3 separate regions of the Homo sapiens genome follow, and regions 2 and 3 are each linked to region 1. Evidence: promoter capture Hi-C in 16 types of primary human blood cells and fetal thymus (Javierre and others, 2016). All regions are on one chromosome and are shown on one strand. The core of a region is centred on a gene start or on the middle of the fragment in contact, and the rest is flanking DNA. Distances in the headings are between cores, read along the strand shown.

Region 1 (2,644 bases), core at 97-2,596:
TGTTTTTTTGTTAAACCTAGCTAACATCCCTCCAAGTGAAGACTAAGTTTCTGCCAACCTTCACTCTAAGTAAAGAAACTAAACGCAGAGTACTCTTTCTGGAGAATTCATTAGGTGGAACCATATAAAACTACTGTTTTGGAGATTTTAAAAGTTAAATACTAGTAACTTTATGTGGTTCAATCTAACTTATTATAACTGGAACTTTTTAAAAGTCTAAGTTAATGTGAATTAAAAATTGACTTTTCTTATGCTTAAGGCCTAAATTTACAAATAATAGTTATAAGTAATCATCCCATTAGTTAACCAAATAATAATTAGTAGACTGCTTATATTTATTAGACTGCTTATTAAGAAGCATATTGCAAGGAACATGATTTTTGAACCAGAAGCACTTGTCCTTGATTTCTATCTCTACCACTAATAAGTACACTAATCAGTTTAACTTTGGTTTCCTCTTTTTATAGAACTAAGGATTAAATGACACAATGTCTATATAAGTACTTTATAATCTACAATTGTTACATACATGCTAGTTGGTTTTGTTATCACCTCATTTACTTACTAGAATACCCCATGAGGTATAAAACACATAATATTATTTTTTCTACTGGACACATGAGAAAACAAAGTCAGATGTTAATGCCTTGTCTATTGTCATTGACTTGTTGGAGAGTTGTAATTTCTACCCATGTTTTCTGACTTCAGATATCTCCATTACAAACAGTATTGTAAATACACAAACAGTATATTTACAGGTTGTATCTTAAGAGGCAATATTCTGTATACTATAGAAAAAGAATCTCAAGTTATAATAAATAAAAATAAGAACTTAATTTAAACAATGTTTCAGGTATTGTGTTGAATGCTTCACAACACCCTCATTTGGTTGATACCATTCTTATCTCCAACTTCCAAATTGGAAACCTGAAGCTTAGAGAAGTTTGATGACCTTCCTGAGTCTATCTACATAGTGAGTGGAGGGTTGGAACTCAAGCCCGATTTGAGCAGATTCTGAAACCTGCTTTTAATGGCTACTTGATGAAAACATATATTGCTTTTATAATCCGAAGAACCACCCCAAAGAAAATTCCACTGCAATGCTAACATGGGAAGGGAAATAATTGAAAAACACATTTCTTAATGCAGATGGCAAAAGAATGGAACCCTAAGTAAGTGGGCTGTGACATACCTGAGCCTGTTCCCACTGTAGCTCACTCATGCCTCCCGCCTCCTGAGGCAGCGGCAGGGCCAGGCTGCCAGGCAGCAGGCACACAGCACACAGCACGGTGAGTCGCATAGCTGCCGTCCAGAGACAATTGTTCTTGGACCTATGGTTGATTTGGTGTTTTCTGCTAGTGACTGCAGAAATTTATATAGCTTCTCAGCCTCGAATGTGGAAATAGGTGACTCATTTGAGTGTTTTCTTTCTTTTTAGAGTCTACAGAACTTTGAAAGTATGTGTTATTTTTCATTAACTAAAACGAGGAAGTATTACATCGTTATTGGCAGGAAGCACACAATGTATTTGTCTTTCAAAGGATTTTTTTTTCTGTCTGCTGCATAAATTGACTCCATGAGAAACCTCATTTTTTTGCCAAAGTCAAATGACTGCTCTCATAGGTATCATTCAGGACATTATGGTACCATATATTCTTAAAGAATAATATATATTCTTAAATATATATTCTTATTATATGGTACCATGTATTCTTAAATACATGGTACCATATATTCTTAACAATTAAAAGGTTTGGAAAAGTGCACAAAACATGTAAATAATGAAATAATAATTAAGCAAATACTGTAACCGTCACCAAAGTCAAGAAATAGAACATCACCAAAATCCTGTGGTTCTCCATACAGGGGAAAGATGGCAGGAGGCAGATGGAAATGCTGCTGTGTGGCTGGATTAGTGGCCACTCTATATACAACTGTGCTGTGTCCCCTCACCTTCCACGTCCCTTAGCAGAGCAGTGATAATTCCCTTCTTTGGGTCTCCTTTTAATCAGTTTATGTCTTTTCTTAATGGGGAACACTGCCTCTAATTCTTCTTGAATTAAACACAAAAAAATACCAAGCCAACAAAAATCTACAAGCACGGGTTTAACTCTTCATCTGGCTTACTTATTCTGCTTCTCATTTTATAGTAACAGATTCTTCCAAGGCTAGACCTTCAACTTGGAGATCCAATTTTTTTCTTCCAATCACTCTGACTCTGGCTGCTGCCCAGCTACAGGTAGGGCTGCATTGGTCCTTAGTACACAAAATGGTTATTCTACGTATAGCAGTAAGAATCCATTACCTACAGATTCTAGCCCAATGACTCCATTCTTACCAAAAATGAAAGTGAGGCCAAGATGATAATTTAACTTATTATACTTCTCCCAGCTCACACAGATAGTAGCTCAGTGCTTTTTCTATCCCACTGCACTGCCTATTCATTTTGTAATAGGTCTGTCTCTTTTATTATATTATACATTACTTGGGAGAACACCATGGCTTTTGACTCTAATACATCATGGGAAACACTCCAAATATGCTGGAGCTAAAAAATTTAATTAATCACATATCACTTCAATTACATGGTAATTGAGCACTGTGAGCCAGCAAAGGTAAAATTTTCAGATCAGTTAATTAAATT
Region 2 (2,644 bases), core at 72-2,571, 98 kb before region 1:
CAATGTGGAATCGCTAAATAAATATAGGCATTACCTCACATACTTATCTTTGTAAACTGACAAATTACAGCTGTATAAATTTATAGGTATAAAGTGATGTTATGATTTATGAATACATGTAGAATAATTTAATCATGCTAATTAACATATCCATCACCTCAAATACTTATTTTTGTGGTGAGAACATTGAAATTTTACTCAGCGATTTTGGAAGGTACCATACACGATAAACTATATTCACTATGCTGTGCAATAGAACTAGAAAAAAGAAAGTTTTCCTCTTCTCTGAGGCTCTGTATCCTTTAACCATCATCTCCCCTTTTTCCCCACCCTGCAGCTTCTGGGAACCACCATTCTACTCTCTGCAGTTCCATCCATGTTGTCTCAAATGACAGAATTTGCACATTTGCTTTTTTAAAGCTGAATAGTATTCCATTGTGTGTATATGTATCACATGTGCTTTATCCATTCATCTGCTGATAAACAGTTAGGTTGATTCTACAACTTGGTGATATGGGCTGGCTGTGTCCCCACCCAAATCTCATCTTGAATTGTAATCCCCATGTGTCATGGCAGTGACCCGGTGGTAGGTAACTGAATCATGGGGGCAGTTTCCCCCATGCTGTTCCCATGATAGTGAGTGAGTTCTCAGGAGATCTGATGGTTTTTTAAGCGTCTGGCATCTCCCTGCTGGCACTTTCTCTCTCCTGCCACCCTGTGAAGAGGCGCCTTCTGCCATGATTGTGAGTTTCCTGAAGCCTTCCCTAGCCATGTGGAACTGAGTCAATTAAACCTCTTTTCTTTATAAATTAATCCATCTTGGGTATTTCTTCAAAGCAGTGTAAGAACAGATTAATCTAGTACATTGGTACTGGGAGTGGGGTGCTACTCTAAGGATAGCTGAAAATGTGGAAGCGACTTTGGCACTGGTTAACAGGCAGAGGTTTAAACAGTTTGGAGGACTTAGAAGAAGACAGGGAAATGTGGGAAAGTTTGGAACTTCCTAGAGACTTGGAGGGCTCAGAAGACAAAAAGATGTGGGAAAGTTTGGAACTTCCTAGAGACTTGTTGAACGGCTTTGACCAAAATGCTGATAGTGATATGGACAATGAAGTCCAGGCTGAGGTGGTCTCAGATGCAGATTTGAGGAACCTGTTGAGAACTGGAGTAAAGGTCACTCTTGCTATGCTTTAGCAAAGAGATTGGTGGCATTTTGCCCCTGCCCTAGAGATCTGTGGAACTAGAACTCGAGAGACACGATTTAGGGTACCTGGCAGAAGAAATTTCTAAGCAGCAAAGCATTCAAGAGGTAGCAGAGCGTAAGAGTTTGGAAAATATGTAGCCTGATGATGTGACAGAAAAGAAAACCCATTCTCTGAGGAGAAATTCAAGCCGGCTGCAGGAATTTGCATAAGTAACAAGGAGCCAAATGTTAACCACCAAAAGACAATGGGGAAAATGTCTCCAGGGCATGTCAGATACCTTCACAGCAGCCCCTCCCATCACAGGCCTGGAGGCCTAGGAGGGAAAAATGGTTTCCTGGGCCAGGCCCAGGGGCCCCCTGCTCTATGCAGCCTGGGGACATAGTGCCCTGCGTCTCAGCTGCTTCAGCTCCAGCCATGGCTAAAAGGGGTCAAAGTACAGCTCAGGCCATTGCTTCAGAGGGTGCAAGCCCCAGGCCTTGGTGGTTTCCATGTAGTGTTGAGCCTGTGGGTGCACAGAAGTCAAGAATTGAGGTTTGGGAACCTCTGACTGGATTTCAGAGAATGTATGGAAATGCCTGGAAGTCCAGGCAGAAGTTTGCTGCAGGTGTGGAGGCCTCATGGAGAAACTCTGCTAGGGCAGTGCAGAAGGGAAATGTGGGGCTGGAGCCCTCACACAGGGTCCCCACTGGGGCACTGCCTAGTGGAGCTGTGAGAAGAGGGCCACTGTCCTCCAGCCCCCAGAATGGTAGACCCATCAACAGCTTGCACTGTGTCTGGAAAAGCCACAGACACTCAACGCCAGCTAGTGACAGCATCTGGGAAGGGGGCTGTACTCTGCAAAGCCACAGGGGTGGAGCTGCTCAAGGACATGGGAGCCCACCTCTTGCATCAGCACGATCTGGATATGAGACAGAGTCATAGGAAATCATTTTGGAACTTTAAGGTTTAATGACTGCCCTACTGGATTTCAGACTTGCATGGGGCCTGCAGCTCCTTTGTTCTGGCCAATTTATCCCATTTGGAACAGGTGTATTTACCCAATGCCTGTACTCACATTGTATCTAGGAAGTAACTAACTTGCTTTTGATTTTACAGGCTCATAGGTGGAAGGGACTTGCCTTATCTCAGTTGAGATTTTGGACTTTTGGGTTAATGCTGGAATGAGTTAAGACTTTGGAAGACTGTTGGGAAGGCATCAAGTCTGAGGGCATGAGATTTGGGAGGGGCCAGTGGTAAAATTATATGGTTTGGCTATGTCCCCACTCAAATTTCATCTTGAATTGTAATCTCCATAATCCCCAAGTGTCATGGCAGCGAGCTGGTGGGAGGTAACTGAATCATAGGGGTGGTTTCCCCTACGCTGTTCTCGTGACAGTTTTTCATGAGATCTGATGGTTTTATAAGTGTCTGGCATTTCCCCTGCTGGCACTCATTCTCTC
Region 3 (2,644 bases), core at 67-2,566, 66 kb after region 1:
TGAGGGTACTGGATTGAAACTGACAATGTAATGTGCTCTATTTTATAGTTTGAAGATGAAAATCATTTTTTATAAAACACGAATAATTTACTTGTCTTCTTAGGAGCCCAGAATTACTTCACAGGATTATTTGGGGACTGGGAAACTGTAATAAAATTTTGACATTGAACTTTCCTAGTGGCTAATTTAGGAATTCTCCAAATTTTATGTAGAGTTTTCCTATTCAGTTAATCTAACAAATATTTATGGAGCACCTATCATCAGGCACTGTGGTGGACATCAAGGATGAAACACTGAAGAAGATGTCGGCCCTGCCCTCAATATGTTTACAATCTAATAGTAGAGACTGATTAGTAACGATCAGAGTGATTGGTGCTACGAAGAGTTAAGTTCAGGATACTTTGAGAACACACAAGAAGTATATCCCATTGCATTTAGGGGCTTAATAAAGGTATCCCTAATGAGGCAACTTAAGCTGATGATAAAATCCAAAAAAGGAATGTATTGGGAAAAGATAAATATTTCCTCATGTTTCGTAAGAGGCATCATGGTGCAGAAGGAAAAACACATTGTGTTTGAGAAGATGTGGGCTAGAGTTTTAACTCCACTGCTGACCAGCCTCTCCAAGCCTCAGTTTAATCAGCTTACATGGGAAAAATAATTTCCTGGCCAATATCATGAGACCATTATAAGGATAAAATGAGATAATGAATATGAAAGTGTATTATAAACTGTAAGGTGCCATATGGATAGATACTGTTAGTTTGAAAAGGTATTATTTGCTTAGGCCTTAATTACCTGGTAATTGGGCACCCTCCATAGACAATACACAAGCCCCAAACATCACAGCCTTATCTAAAGCGTATGTTTTAACTGATGAAAAACTGAGATCCAGAAGGGCTGCTGGCCCAAAGGTCACTGGTGGTGAGGGGCAGAGACGGCCCAGCTCAGGCTCTAGCTGCCTTGAGGTTAGTCACATGTCCGATCTCACCTACTTGCTCATGCTCAGTCTCGTGACCTCTGGTTTTTTCTTTGTTTGTACTTTGACCCTTTGTCCAATCAGACCTGGGCTTTTCTGAAGGCCAGAGGGACTGCTTCCCTTTTCCCTTTTCTCTCCACCACCTCGTAATGAATACAGTTTTGGGTATCCAGAATCCCGCAACTACTTCTTGGATTAATTGGGAACCTGGGATGAAACCTGAAGAGCAAGTGTGTTCCAATTAATGCAATTCAATACATAGCTCTGAAATGTTTTCTCTTATAAGTTGCTGTGCTAAGACACAAAGTGTGCATTTAAGAATATTATAATGATGAGGCCATGTGGGGAAAGTGGGGAGGTAGAGGAGCAGATATGTCTTCCCAAAACTAGGCTCTGTCTGAATGATGTCTCTGATGAGGTGTAGTAGACTTCCAGCTGCTTTCTCTTTGATCACTCTAAAGCCAGATGCATTTTCTTGCATTTCTCACTTAAAAATCAACAAGCAACTCTAGGCAAAGCTAAGTCCTACTTTTTAGTTGAAGTTTTGGGACAGTGATATCTTGAATGACTCAACATGAGAAGTAGTAAAGGGTAGTAGTTACGAGCTCAGGCAAAGGAAAACTGTACTCTTGAAACTTTTCACAAGTGGTAGACTCTCAAATTCCTTACTAAGGAAATATTGATGTAGGATATCGTGAGGACTAAATTGAAGTAGTCATTGTAAATCAAGTGTGATTTTGCACCCTGGGGGACGTTAGGCAATATCTGGTGACAATTTTGGTTGTCACAGGTGGGGATGAGCAGTGCTATTGGAGTCTAATGAGTACAGCCAGGGATGCCACTAAACATCCTAATGCAAAAGACAGCTCAACACAACTAAGACTTATCTGGCTCAAGATACCAGTAGTGTCAATGTTAAGAAACCCTGCTTTAAACACCACTATGATGTAGTGTAATGTATATAATGTGCACATAGGATAGAAATAAATGCTATCCATCACTTATATAAATTATGACAAATTTCTTTTCTTTTCTTTTTTTTGAGATGGAGTTTCACTCTTGTTGCCCAGGCTGGAGTGCAATGGCGTGATCTAAGTTCATGGCAACTTCCGCCTCCTGGGTTCAAGCAATTCTCCTGCCTCAGCCTCCCGAGTAGCTGGGATTACAGGCATGTGACACCACTCCCGGCTAATTTTGTATTTTTAGTAGAGGTGGGGTTTCTCCATGTTGGTCAGGCTGGTCTCGAACTCCCGACCTCAGGTGATCTGCCTGCCTCCACCTCCCAAAGTGCTGAGATTACAGGCGTAGACACCATGCCTGGCCAAATTATCACAAATTTCAAAAAGAATCTGTAGTCATGAAAAATTTCAGTAAACTAATGAAAAAAATGATGTCTTGTGGCAATAAAACAGTAACATACTCAGACAATTTGCATCCTTAGACCTATAGATTGTAGTAATAAGTGAAGTAAAACTCACAAAAACAATGATAGCAAGTAACTTCCTTATACATCTGTGAATGGATTTAAAATATAAACAAAAAAATCTATAAGCCTCTTGGAAAAGAACAGCTGCAGGATGTATTGGAATGAAAATAAACAGATTATATCACTAGTCTATAATTTGATCTTTGATAAGGAAGGCAAAACAATGGAGTTTATTGATA

What was found. The method cuts DNA at HindIII sites, captures the fragments that hold promoters and counts their contacts. A CHiCAGO score of 5 or more calls a contact.
Region 2: a fragment that was not itself captured here is called in contact with the fragment with the promoter of MMP7 in region 1 in 2 of 17 cell types (M1 macrophages and total B cells); the score reaches 5.7 in M1 macrophages.
Region 3: a fragment that was not itself captured here is called in contact with the fragment with the promoter of MMP7 in region 1 in 8 of 17 cell types (M0 macrophages, M1 macrophages, naive B cells and 5 more); the score reaches 13.7 in M0 macrophages.

What each region holds. Positions count from the first base shown.
Region 1 is chr11:102,529,401-102,532,044 of GRCh38, forward strand. It overlaps MMP7 (matrix metallopeptidase 7), which reads right to left and starts at 1,347. Exons shown (of 6, transcript NM_002423.5): 1 at 1,193-1,347. The coding sequence starts at 1,300. The HindIII fragment of the contact is 6,591 bases long and covers 932-2,644 here.
Region 2 is chr11:102,431,222-102,433,865 of GRCh38, forward strand. All of the region lies in intron 2 of TMEM123 (transmembrane protein 123), which reads right to left. Among named protein-coding and RNA genes, the nearest start is that of TMEM123, 20 kb to the right of the region's middle. The HindIII fragment of the contact is 4,066 bases long and covers 1-2,644 here.
Region 3 is chr11:102,595,764-102,598,407 of GRCh38, forward strand. The region is part of intron 6 of MMP20 (matrix metallopeptidase 20); the gene reads right to left. Among named protein-coding and RNA genes, the nearest start is that of MMP20, 28 kb to the right of the region's middle. The HindIII fragment of the contact is 6,692 bases long and covers 1-2,644 here.